Regions from separate parts of the Homo sapiens genome. Here all the other regions are linked to region 1. The links are contacts of gene promoters, found by promoter capture Hi-C in blood cells and fetal thymus (Javierre and others, 2016). All regions are on one chromosome and are shown on one strand. Each heading gives the region's core, a stretch centred on a gene start or on the middle of the fragment in contact. The rest is flanking DNA. Distances are from core to core; before and after follow the strand shown. Region 1 holds the start of JPH3 (junctophilin 3). Region 2 overlaps ZCCHC14 (zinc finger CCHC-type containing 14). Region 3 overlaps LOC105371399 (a long non-coding RNA gene).

Region 1 (3,605 bases), core at 813-3,312:
CCCAGGCATCCATGCCTGAAACAGGCGAGCCGCCCGAGGGAGGCAGAGGACCCAGTGCCTCTGAGGATAAGCTCCCACATGGGAGTGGACTGGTCGGGGAAGCCAGTTTGTTTGGGGTCTGGCTTCCAGGAAAGGACCGGCTCCATGCGTGTCAGGTGCACTGAGGAGTGGATATCGGAGAGTCCAGGCAGGCGGGCAGCTGCAGAGCCGGCCAAGGTTCCCTGCACAGAAACCATCTTACAGCAGCAGCAGCAGCAGCAGCAGCAGCAGCAGCAGCAGCAGGCAGCTCCCTGGCTTCCGGCCCCGGCTCTGCCCCGAATGCGGTGGCATCTTAGAATGAAGGCACAGATCGATTCCCTCAACTAATGGTGAAAACGATGCAGCCACTGAAAGACGAGATTCCTGGGCTCTCACTGAGCAGATGGGCCTCCCTCCTCCCTCCAGCAGCCTGCTTCGACAGCGCTAGTCCGCGTCCAACCACCTAGAAGTGTACTGCCTGGCTGTTTTGGTTCGGGTTGGCATCCCCCGCCCCTAGCGCTCCCCATCACTCCCTTTCTCTCGGCTTGGGCAGATTCGGGGCTGAGGAAGGCCCTCGGGCGCCGCAGGAACACCAGAAGCGAAGCTGGGGCCTGATCGAAGGGCGGCCTCCAGGGTGGGGGGCAAAGCCAACAAGGGGAGGGGCCCTTCTCCCAGCCCCCTCTGCCCTTGCTGGGTTCCCCAGGGCCGCGGGCCCAGCCTGGCCCTTCCCGCAGGTCTCCGGCCTGCTGTGTCCGACGCACGGAGGCTCTGCTGGGCCCCGCCTGGCTCTGCCCCTGGAAAGCCCCCAACACCCTTCAGCTGGCACAGGGGCACTGTCCCCACCAGGCAGCGGGGCAACCTGTAGCCAGGAGCCGCCGTGGCTTCCAGGGAAGCCCGGGAAAGGCCCCTGGTGCCCACGGCCCAACCGGAGGACGCAGCTCAACTTCCCCAGAGATCCACAGAAGGGGCGCGATCGGAAGCACGTCCCTCCCGCCCCGGCCCGGCCCGGCCCGCGGCACCTACCTCCGTCCGAGTAGGTCTCGGTCCCGTAGCCGTCCTGCAGCCCGTTGCTCCAGGTCCCTTCGTATTTGGCCCCGTTGCCCGCGCACTCCCGCACCCCGTAGCGCCCCTTGAATCCGTGCGTCCACTCGCCCTTGTACACCCACTTCCCCTTGCTCTCCAGGCCGATGCCGTGGCGCTTGCCCTGCGCCCAGGTGCCCTGGTACGTGTTGCCGCTGGGCCAGGTGTAGACGCCCAGCACCTCGAAGCCGTGGCTCCACGAGCCGGTGTATTCGCCTTGGCCCTTGGGGCCGGTGCAGACGCCATGGCCGTGCGCCTTGCCGTCCTCCCAGCCTCCACAGTAGGACCCTCCGTCGTCAAAATTAAACCTGCCCCCACTGGACATGCATGTAACTCGGTTCCAGATCCCGCAAACGGTGAAAACGGACTCAGGCGATCGACACAGCAGAGTCGCGGCCGCCGGCGGCCCTGGGTCGCGAGCGTTTTCCGGAGGAGAGGAGGACGCGGCCCCGGAGCGCGGTCTCGGGCGCGGGCGGCCGCGGCGCCGGCTCCGGAGGAATTTCAGTCAATCGGGGGCGATTATTCCTTTTCGAGCTGCGCCGCGGAGCCTGACCAGCGTCTCGCGCTCCCGCTGGAGACAGGACCGGAGGGGAGGGGGAGGGGAGGAGGGAGGGAGGGGGCAGGAGCGGCGGCGGCGGGGCCCGCGGCTCCACCTCAGCGGCGAGAGGGCCCCTCGCCGGCAGCCCCGCGGGGAGGGCGCCGCGCCGAGGCCGGGCGGGGGGCAGCTCAGGCCCGGGCCGCGGCCCCCCACCTGCGGCTGCCGCGCTGCGGGCGCCCGAGGGCGGCGGCGGGGCCCGCGGGCGGCGGCGGCGGCACGGGCGGCGGCGCTGGCGGCTGCACCATATTGGGGGCCGCGGGCCGGGCGCGGGGCGGCGGCGGCAGCAGCAGCAGCAATGCGGCGGCTCGGGCGGCGGCGGCGGCGGTGGCGGCGGCGGCGTGCGCTCCGGGCCCGGCTCGCGCGCTCGGGCCGCGCGGCGCGCGCCCGCACCCCGCCCGCCCGCGCGCCCCCGCCCGCCCCCCGCCCCCCGCCCCCCGCCCCCGCCCCCGCCCCCGCCCCCGGAGCGCGGCGGTCCCAAGAGGGGCGCGGCCCAGCAGGCTAGGGCGCGGCGCGCGGGCGGGGACCCCGGGCGCCCCGCCCTCCGCGCCCCCAGCCCCGCGCTCCCCGCCCTGGGCTTCCCCGGGGCCCCCGCCGGACTGGAAACCGGGGTCCAGCCGGGGCGCCCCCGCCCCCTCCGGGAGTGGGATTTAAAGGCACAGGAACTGCGTCATGGGAAGGCGCGCAGCACTCAGGGCGCCCTCGGCCCCCTCCCGGGAGCTGGGCGGTGAGGCCTGCAGAGCAGGACCTGCCAGCTGAGCGCCCCTACCCTCGCCCCTGCCCGCCCCCGCGCCTCGCCCCTCCCGCCGGGCTCGGATCTGCCCCGCCTGCCCCTGACTCGACTGAGGCCCTTTGCAAACCACAGGTGGTTTTCTCCGGTGACAAACAATGCTTCCTTCTTCCTTCCGGGCAGCTTGGGTCCAAGAGTGGGGGGAGGGGGGCTTACCCCAGAAAACAGGGATTTGGCGAGTCCCTCTCCCCTATAAATTGAGTGAGAGTCGGGACACACGCGTGTATCTTGGAGCAAAGTCACCCGAATTCCGTGCGCCCTGCGCCCTGGCCAACAGGTAGCGCCCCCCCACTCGGGGAACGGTCGCGCTTTTGGGGAGCAAAGTGGGACCGCCATTCGGGCGTTTCTAGGTCTCTCTCCAGACATACTCTCACCCTCCGCCCCTCTTCCCACGCACAAGAGAGAGTCTGATTCTTGGATCCGAGCATCCTGGGATCCATTTAAAATGCATTTCCTGGACCATAAATCCTCAGGCAGAAGCCGGCGTCCCCAGCCCTCCTGAAATGCGTGCGGGAAATGGCAGCAGACCGGTGCAGTGGGCTGATGGGGGTGTGGAGGCTGCCCAGGGTCCTCGCTCCTGGGAGTGTGGGCCGGTGACCGCAGCGCGGTGAGCCAGAAACTGCAAGCCAGGCCTGGAGCCTGAGATTAGGACAGGAGAAGAGGTGCGATTCGGAGCCTCCAATCAGCCAGGAGCCCTGCTCAGATCTTCCCCTGTCCGAGAGAATCAGGATGGTCCCCACTCTTGGCTCACGGGGCTCTCAGAAAAATCAGCCCCTCCTGGGAGTCCCAGAGTTCAACCTCAGTCTCTTGCCTTGGGCACCAAAGCTCCCTCCCCAGAGTACCAGCAGCCAGGAGGACAGTCACCTCCTCATACACCCACTGTCAATGAGGAACATTTAGGGCGGTCGGCTTTGTTTTGTTTTGTGCAGTTACAGTGATTCATTGAGCTTTCTAGCGCTGTCTCCCTGTGCCCCTCTACAGAAGTTCTCTAAATGTCTGCGGTGGCATCATTGGACCAGCTACGTCTTGGACTTTATTGGAAGCTGCCAAATTGCTTTCCAAACACCTGGAGCAACTGACCTCTCACCCTTCAGTGTGCCTGGGTTTGTGGTTCTCTATTTC
Region 2 (3,605 bases), core at 710-3,209, 180 kb after region 1:
GTGTAAATCATATCAGACCAGCAGGCGGCACCATGGAGCACCTGCCCCAGGTTTTCCTGCAGTAGCAGAATTCTGCTGGTGTTGGATGGGTCTGGACACACCTCCTCTACCTTGTCCTCTCTTCCAGCTATGTCAGCTCTATCCTGAAGAGAACTTGGAGAAACTCATTCCTTGCTTAGCTGGTCCGGACGCATTTTATGTGGAGCGAAACCACGTGGATCTGGACTCAGGCCTGAGGTGAGGCCCTTACCAGGCACCCGGCGCGTCCACAGCTGGCAAGGACAGGCTGGTCCTGTGGTCAATGCTGTGGTCCTCCAAGGAGCTCTGGGAGGATGCGCGGTCACCTGGACCTGGGTCTCTACTTGGCCTCTAGGGATTTCCATTAGTTCTGGAGGATTCGGGAGCCCTCAGTAAGCTGAGAGTGGTTCTGAGTGTGTGAGGAAGGGAATTCCAGGGTGGGTCCCACCACGTCTTGGGCTTTGGCAGTCCTGTGAAATAATCCTGGGCTGCTGTTTCCATCCTGTAGTCCAAGGTTGAGACTATTCCCAGATAAAATTGGCGTCTCTTAAACAGTTTCTCTGGACCCTCGATCGTGTCTTGGCTCACGTGGCACACGAAGTAACATGGCCGACCAGTTCCGTAAATGTGCTGCTGCCGGGGCCCTGGGGACCAGTGTCCAAGCACCTTTCTGGCTGGTGGGTGGCACTGATCTCATGTCACAGGGCATGACTGCTGTCGTCAACCTTGGTGGCCATGAATACAGCATTGAGAGGAAGGGCTTGAAGAAGCAGTGGCAGTCGGGCAAGAACTCAGTTGAATTAAAGCAGGAAGAATATGAGGCTCTGGCACTTCTGGCTTTTTTCCTCTAATACACATTTCTCTTGATTAAAAGTTAAATTTTTTTCTTTCAATTCGTCAGCAGGAATGCCATTTTAATGTTGATAAGACCACTTGTTTGCCTTTTAGGTACCTGGCCTCATTACCTTCTCACGTGTTGAAAAATGACCATGTCAGGAGGTTTCTCAGCACTTCCTCTCCCCCACAGCAGCTTCAGAGTCCAAGTGAGTTTGTAAAATATGGTTAAATATAAATTAAAAAAAAAAAAAACAGCTGGGCGCAGTGGCTCATGCTTGTAATCCCAGCACTTTGGGAGGCTGAGGCGGGCGGATCACCTGAGGTTGGGAGTTCAAGACCAGCCTGACCAACATGGAAAAACCCTGTCTCTACTAAAAATACAAAATTAGGCTGGGCGCAGTGGCTCACGCCTATAATCCCAATACTTTGGGAGGCTGAGGCGGGTGGATCACGAGGTCAGGAGTTCAAGACCAGCCCGGCCAATATGGTGAAACCCCGTGTCTACTAAAAATACAAAAAAATTAGCCAGGCGTGGTGATGCATGCCTGCAGTCCCCGCTACTTGGGAGGCTGAGGCAGAAGAATCACTTGAACCCGGGAGGCGGTGGTTGCAGTGAGCCGAGATTGCACCACTGCACTCCAGCATGGTTGACAGAGCAAGTCTCCATCTCCAAAATAAAATAAAAATACAAAATTAGCCGGGCGTGGTGGCAGGCTCCTGTAATCCCAGCTACTCAGTAGGCTGAGGCAGGAGAATCACTTGAACCCGGGAGGCGGTGGTTGCAGTGAGCCGAGATTGCCCCACTGCACTCCAGCATGGTTGACAGAGCAAGACTCCATCTCCAAAATAAAATAAAAATATAAAATTAGCCGGGCGTGGTGGCAGTCGCCTGTAGTCCCAGCTACTCGGGAGGCTGAGGCAGGAGAATCACTTGAACCCGGGAGGCAGAGGTTGCAGTGAGCCGAGATCGCACCATTGCTCTCCAGCCTGGGCAACAAGAGCAAAACACCGTCTCAAAAAATAATAAAATAAAACAAATATTTTCATTGTCTGTAAATTTTTATGGTATTTATTTTTAAATTTATAGGTCCTGGCAATCCCTCCCTTTCTAAAGTAGGTACCGTGATGGGCGTGTCTGGAAGGTGAGAAATCTTCTATGTAACCAGCACAGTTCAGATAAGCATTTTACAATGTTTACTTTGAGTTCTGTGTAAAGTTGTTCCAAGAATTAAGTCATGCTCAAGTTGAGTCTTGGATGATATTGAGAAGAATTGAGTAGAGATGATTGAATTTACGATTTCCAAAAAAAGAGTTCTCTAAGCCACTGGAATCAGAATTCCCAGGGACTCCTCCCCAGTGCAAGGTCCTGGGCCCCATCATAGACGTAGAAAGTCAGAATTTCCGAGAATCTGGCTGTGAGAAACCTGCTCCCAGAAGCATAGGGTCGTGCTCCTGAGGAGCGTCCTCTGTCCGCACGGGCCCTGGGTAGCTGCAGTCGTATGCCGGCAACACAGAGGCTCCCATCTTTGCTGACAGTGAGGTGGGCTGTCACAGATCAGTGCACACGCACCCCCATAGGGAGTCTCGTGGAGATGTTGTCTGGGCGCGAGGTTTCGAGGCGTAGACTGGCATCCTCCTGGTGTCGGGGTAGGGTAAGCGCCCAGTCAGCAGGTGTGACTTTGCAGTTAAGGAGCAAGGCCAGAGTGGAGTGCCGGTCACACCTTCCAGCCTTCTGCGTTTTACTTTTCTAGAAAAATTGTATTTGAACATTAAAGATTTAATAGTCTATTTTGATGTATGATTTATCAGTGTCATTCTGTGACTTAGAAGTAACAGAAATACCTATCGGAGTAGCATGTTTTTAAAAAATACAAGTAACAGAAACTTGGCAGCTAAAGCAGAAGTCTGGTGGGGACAGAGACGTACACATACATAATACACATACGTACACACAAGTAGACGCATACTCCGAAGCACGGGCAGAGGCATGTGTGTGTATATGCACAGCCGCCTGTATGCACACGTGTGCACAGACATGCATTACAGAAATCTTAGCTGCAGAAAGGTGGTTGGGGAGGGAGGGCAGTCATAGCACAGCAGTGTTGGCAGTTCAGGGTGGCCTGTGACAACAGGGCCGGCCAAGAGGCAGAGGCTGGCACAGAAAGGCCTGGAAGTGAGGTCTGTGGTGGAGTCTGTGGTTGTGGAAGCCACAGTCTCTCTGTGTCCCTCCTGCCCCTGTCCCACAGGCCTGTGTGTGGAGTGGCTGGTATCCCGTCCTCGCAGAGCGGAGCCCAGCACCACGGGCAGCACCCGGCCGGCTCCGCCGCCCCCTTGCCTCACTGCTCCCATGCGGGCAGCGCGGGCTCAGCCCTGGCCTACCGGACCCAGATGGACACATCACCTGCCATCCTCATGCCTTCCAGTCTGCAGACCCCTCAGACCCAGGAGCAGAATGGGATTCTAGACTGGCTTAGGAAACTGCGTTTGCACAAGTATTACCCCGTCTTTAAGCAGCTCTCCATGGAGAAGGTATGTCGGTTTTCTGGCTGGCCGTACAGAATTGCTAGATTGTTTACTCAAGACCTCCCTGGGGGCATTGAGTTTCCAAACCAACACAAGGTGGATGAAGTACGGAGGCCGAGGCGCAGCGCCTGTTCTTAAGGGAGACGGTGGGCTTTGCGGAGGCCGCCTGCAGCTGCAGCCAGCCACAAACAGGACATGTTGTAAACAAACAGCTTGTCTAGGGGCTT
Region 3 (3,605 bases), core at 605-3,104, 170 kb before region 1:
AGCTCACTGCAAGCTCTGCCTCCCGGGTTCACGCCATTCTCCTGCCTCAGCCTCTCCAGCAGCTGGGACTACAGGCACATGCCGCCACGCCTGGCTAATTTTTCTATTTTTAGTAGAGACGGGGTTTCACTGTGTTAGCGAGGATGGTCTCGATCTCCCGATCTTGTGATCTGCCTGCCTCGGCCTCCCAAAGTGCTGAGATTACAGGCGTGAGCCACTGTGCCTGGCCAGACCTTGATAGTATTAATACATATTAAATTCTACACTTTAATTTATTGTTTTAATTAGAAGAACATCACTTATTGCTTTATGCTATGACACTGGAAAATCGGCCGGGCGCGGTGGCTCATATCTGTAATCCCAGCACTTTGGGAGGCTGAGGCGGGCGGATCACGAGGTCAGGAGATCGAGACCATCCTGGCTAACATGGTGAAACCCCGTCTCTACTAAAAATACAAAAAAAAATTAGCCGGGCATGGTGGCGGGCGCCTGTTTTCCCAACTACTTGGAAGGCTGAGGCAGGAGAATGGCGTGAACCCGGAAGGCGGAGCTTGCAGTGAGCCGAGATAGCGCCACTGCCCTCCAGCCTGGGAGACAGAGTGAGACTCCGTCTCAAAAAAAAAAAAAAAAAAAAAGAAAAAAAATTGGACAATCTTGATGAAGAAGACGGGACACATGTTTCCAGGTTTCCAATTTGGAACTTCAAGGCTGACAAATTCCATACTCATTTCTCATCATCCCTTGAGGCCCCTCCTGAGTGGGTGGCCCTTCTCATAGGGCAGGGGACAACTGTAGATCCCTCTTGCTCCTCAGCAGCCACCTGCCTCACCCCAGCCACCTGTGCACACTTGAAATATATACAGTTTATTGTATATAAGCAACACATAGATAAATCCCTGATTATAGTTGGAAATCTTATTATTCCTCTCTCTGGAATGGATTCAAAGAAGTGGGAAAAATTCAGTAAGGCCAGCATGGTGGCTCACGCCTGTAATCCCAGCACTTTAAGATGCCCAGTCGGGTGGATCACGTGAGGTCAGGAGTTTGAGACCAGCTTGGCCTACATGGTGAAACCTTGTCTCTATAAAACATACAAAAATTAGCTGGGTGTGGTGGCAGATGCCTGTAATCCCAGCTACCTGGGAGGCTGAGGTAAGAACTTGGGAGCCGGAGGTTGCAGTGAGCTGAGATAGTGCCACTGCACTCCAGCCTGGGTGACAGAGTGAGACTCTGTCTCAAAAAAAAAAAAAAAAAGCCTTTGTGTTTTGCTTTTTTACTTCCCTAAGCTTTATTTTATTTATTTTTAATTTTTATTTTTTGAGACGGAGTCTCACTCTGTCGCCCAGGCTGGAGTGCAATGGTGCGATCTTGGCTCACTGCAAGCTCCGCCTCCCGGGTTCACGCCATTCTCCTGCCTCAGCTTCCCGAGTACTGGGACTACAGGCGCCCGCCACCGCGCCCGGCTAATTTTTTGTATTTTTAGTAGAGACGGGGTTTCACCGTGTTAGCCAGGATGGTCTTGATCTCCTGACCTCGTGATCCACCCGCCTCAGCCTCCCAAAGTGCTGGGATTACAGGCGTGAGCCACCGCGCCTGGCCTCTTTCCTAAGCTTTATTATTGTTTCACTTGATTTTCCCAAGAATCCTGTGTAATAGGTGAACTAGTTCATTATTCCCACTTTCCTGCTGGGAAACGTGCAAAGAGCCACGTAATCCATACCACACTTGGCAGAACCTTCCAATCACATTGATTACTTGTGGTGAGGATAATTAGAAGTTAGCATATTTTCCTAAAATTTAATCTATTATTAATAGATTTTTTTTCTCTTCTGCACTTCAACTTGAAGGCAGCAGAGGGCGCCTGATCACACAAAAGATACACTCTAAAAGTCAGCGACAGATTAAAGATAATCCATGAAAGTTTCAACAATGTGAATTTTACTAAAATAGAGCCTTGTACTTAATCTTTTGACTATTTTAGGATCTGATCTCATTTTAGATGTTCTATTCCGTCTTTCTCAGTATGAGAATTTCAGTCTCACGTAAATCACCATGACACCTATAATCCAAGAGCCTTCTAATTTAGCTTCAAGCTTCTTTCAGATAATAAAAGTATTAAACCCCGCATCCACCAGATCCTCCTAAATCTTCAATAGGTCATACGCTCTCCCTGTCTCCGGCCTGAAGTGGGCACCACTGTAATGTACTGCAGCCAGATGTGCTGTGAATGAAGAGCCTTTTGGCTTCAAGTGCATTGCCTCAGGTTTACCCAGGATTTTTAGAAAAATATTAAAGGATTACGTATGTTCTTAAAGTCATAGTACACTAGAGGGGACAGAACTATTTCCCGAGGGCAATAGTGAGGATTTAGCCTTTTGTAGTTCGTCATGGAAGATAAACATGCCTGGATGCCCAGGCTGGGTTTCTGTGAAATTCTCCAGCTCCTTTCTGCTCAGCTCCTAACCGGTTTTTTTTTTCTACCACCACATAGGTTTCCTACAAGCAGTGCTGGAGACCATGGTGGTCTTCAACCAGTGCTATCTTTTCTTCTCATTATTTCCCCAAATTTCATTTTTCTTCTTAAAGAGCTAGGTTTATGGATAAGGCTTGGAGTGGGTTGGAAAATCATTCCTCCTCAGCTGCTCAGTGACTAGTCATTGATTGGATCTAAGGTAACTTTTTTTGTTTTTGAGACAGAGTTTCGCTTTTGCTGCCCAGGCTGGAGTGCAATGGCGTGATCTGGGCTCACCGCAACCTTTCCTCCCGGTTCAAGCAATTCTCCTACCTCAGCCTCCTGAGTAGCTGGGATTAAAGGTGCACACCACCACACCTGGCTAATTTTTTTGTATTTTTGTAGAGACGGGGTTTCACCATGTTGGCCAGGCTGGTTTTGAACTCCTGACCTCGTGATCTGCCCACCTTGGCCTCCCAAAGTGCTGGGATTACAGATGTGAGCCACTACGCCTGGCCGAGTTAACTTCTTCTTTTTTTTTTTTTTTTTGAGACGGAGTCTAGCTCTGTTGCCCAGGCTGGAGTGCAGTGGTTCAGTCTCGGCTCACTGCAACCTCTGTCTCCCAGGCTCAAGCCATTCTCCTGACTCAGCCTCCCGAGTAGCTGGGATTACAGGTGCGCACCACCATGCCTGTCTAATTTTGTATTTTTAGTGGAGATGGGGTTTCACCATGTTGATCAGGCTGGTCTCAAACTCCTGACCTCAGGTGATCTGCCTGCCTCTGCCTCTCAAAGTGCTAGGATTACAGGCGTGAGCCATCACACCTGGCTGGATCTAAGATAACATCTTTTTTTTTTTTTTTTTTTGAGATGGAGTCTTGCTTTGTCGCCCAGGCTGGAGTGCAGTGGTGCAATCTCCGCTCACTGCAACCTCTGCCGCCTAGGTTCAAATGATTCTTTTGCCTCAGCCTCCTGAATAGTTGGGACTACAGGTGGGTGCCACCACACCTGGCTAATTTTTTTTTTTTTTTTTGTATTTTTAGTGGAGACAGGGTTTCACCATATTGGCCAGGCTGGTCTTGAACTCCTGACCTCGTGATCAGCCCGCTTCAGCCTCCCAAAGTGCTGGGATTACAGGAATGAACCACCACGCC

What was found. The method cuts DNA at HindIII sites, captures the fragments that hold promoters and counts their contacts. A CHiCAGO score of 5 or more calls a contact.
Region 2: a contact is called between a fragment that was not itself captured here and the fragment with the promoter of JPH3 in region 1, in 2 of 17 cell types (endothelial precursors and megakaryocytes). The highest score is 7.1, in endothelial precursors.
Region 3: a contact is called between a fragment that was not itself captured here and the fragment with the promoter of JPH3 in region 1, in 1 of 17 cell types (endothelial precursors). The highest score is 7.7, in endothelial precursors.

Annotation. Positions count from the first base shown.
Region 1 is chr16:87,600,965-87,604,569 of GRCh38, reverse strand. JPH3 (junctophilin 3) reads right to left here and starts at 2,062. Exons shown (of 5, transcript NM_020655.4): 1 at 1,042-2,062. The coding sequence starts at 1,423. LOC124903750 (a long non-coding RNA gene) reads left to right here and starts at 2,387. Exons shown (of 2, transcript XR_007065172.1): 1 at 2,387-2,558; 2 at 3,465-3,605. RefSeq lists an enhancer at 2,961-3,523. The HindIII fragment of the contact is 10,792 bases long and covers 1-3,605 here.
Region 2 is chr16:87,417,239-87,420,843 of GRCh38, reverse strand. ZCCHC14 (zinc finger CCHC-type containing 14) reads left to right here. Exons shown (of 13, transcript NM_015144.3): 5 at 128-237; 6 at 967-1,061; 7 at 1,943-1,997; 8 at 3,102-3,384. Among named protein-coding and RNA genes, the nearest start is that of MAP1LC3B, 27 kb to the right of the region's middle. The HindIII fragment of the contact is 4,091 bases long and covers 1-3,605 here.
Region 3 is chr16:87,767,632-87,771,236 of GRCh38, reverse strand. All of the region lies in intron 1 of LOC105371399 (a long non-coding RNA gene), which reads right to left. The region is part of intron 3 of LOC102724467 (a long non-coding RNA gene); the gene reads left to right. Among named protein-coding and RNA genes, the nearest start is that of KLHDC4, 3.4 kb to the right of the region's middle. The HindIII fragment of the contact is 483 bases long and covers 1,613-2,095 here.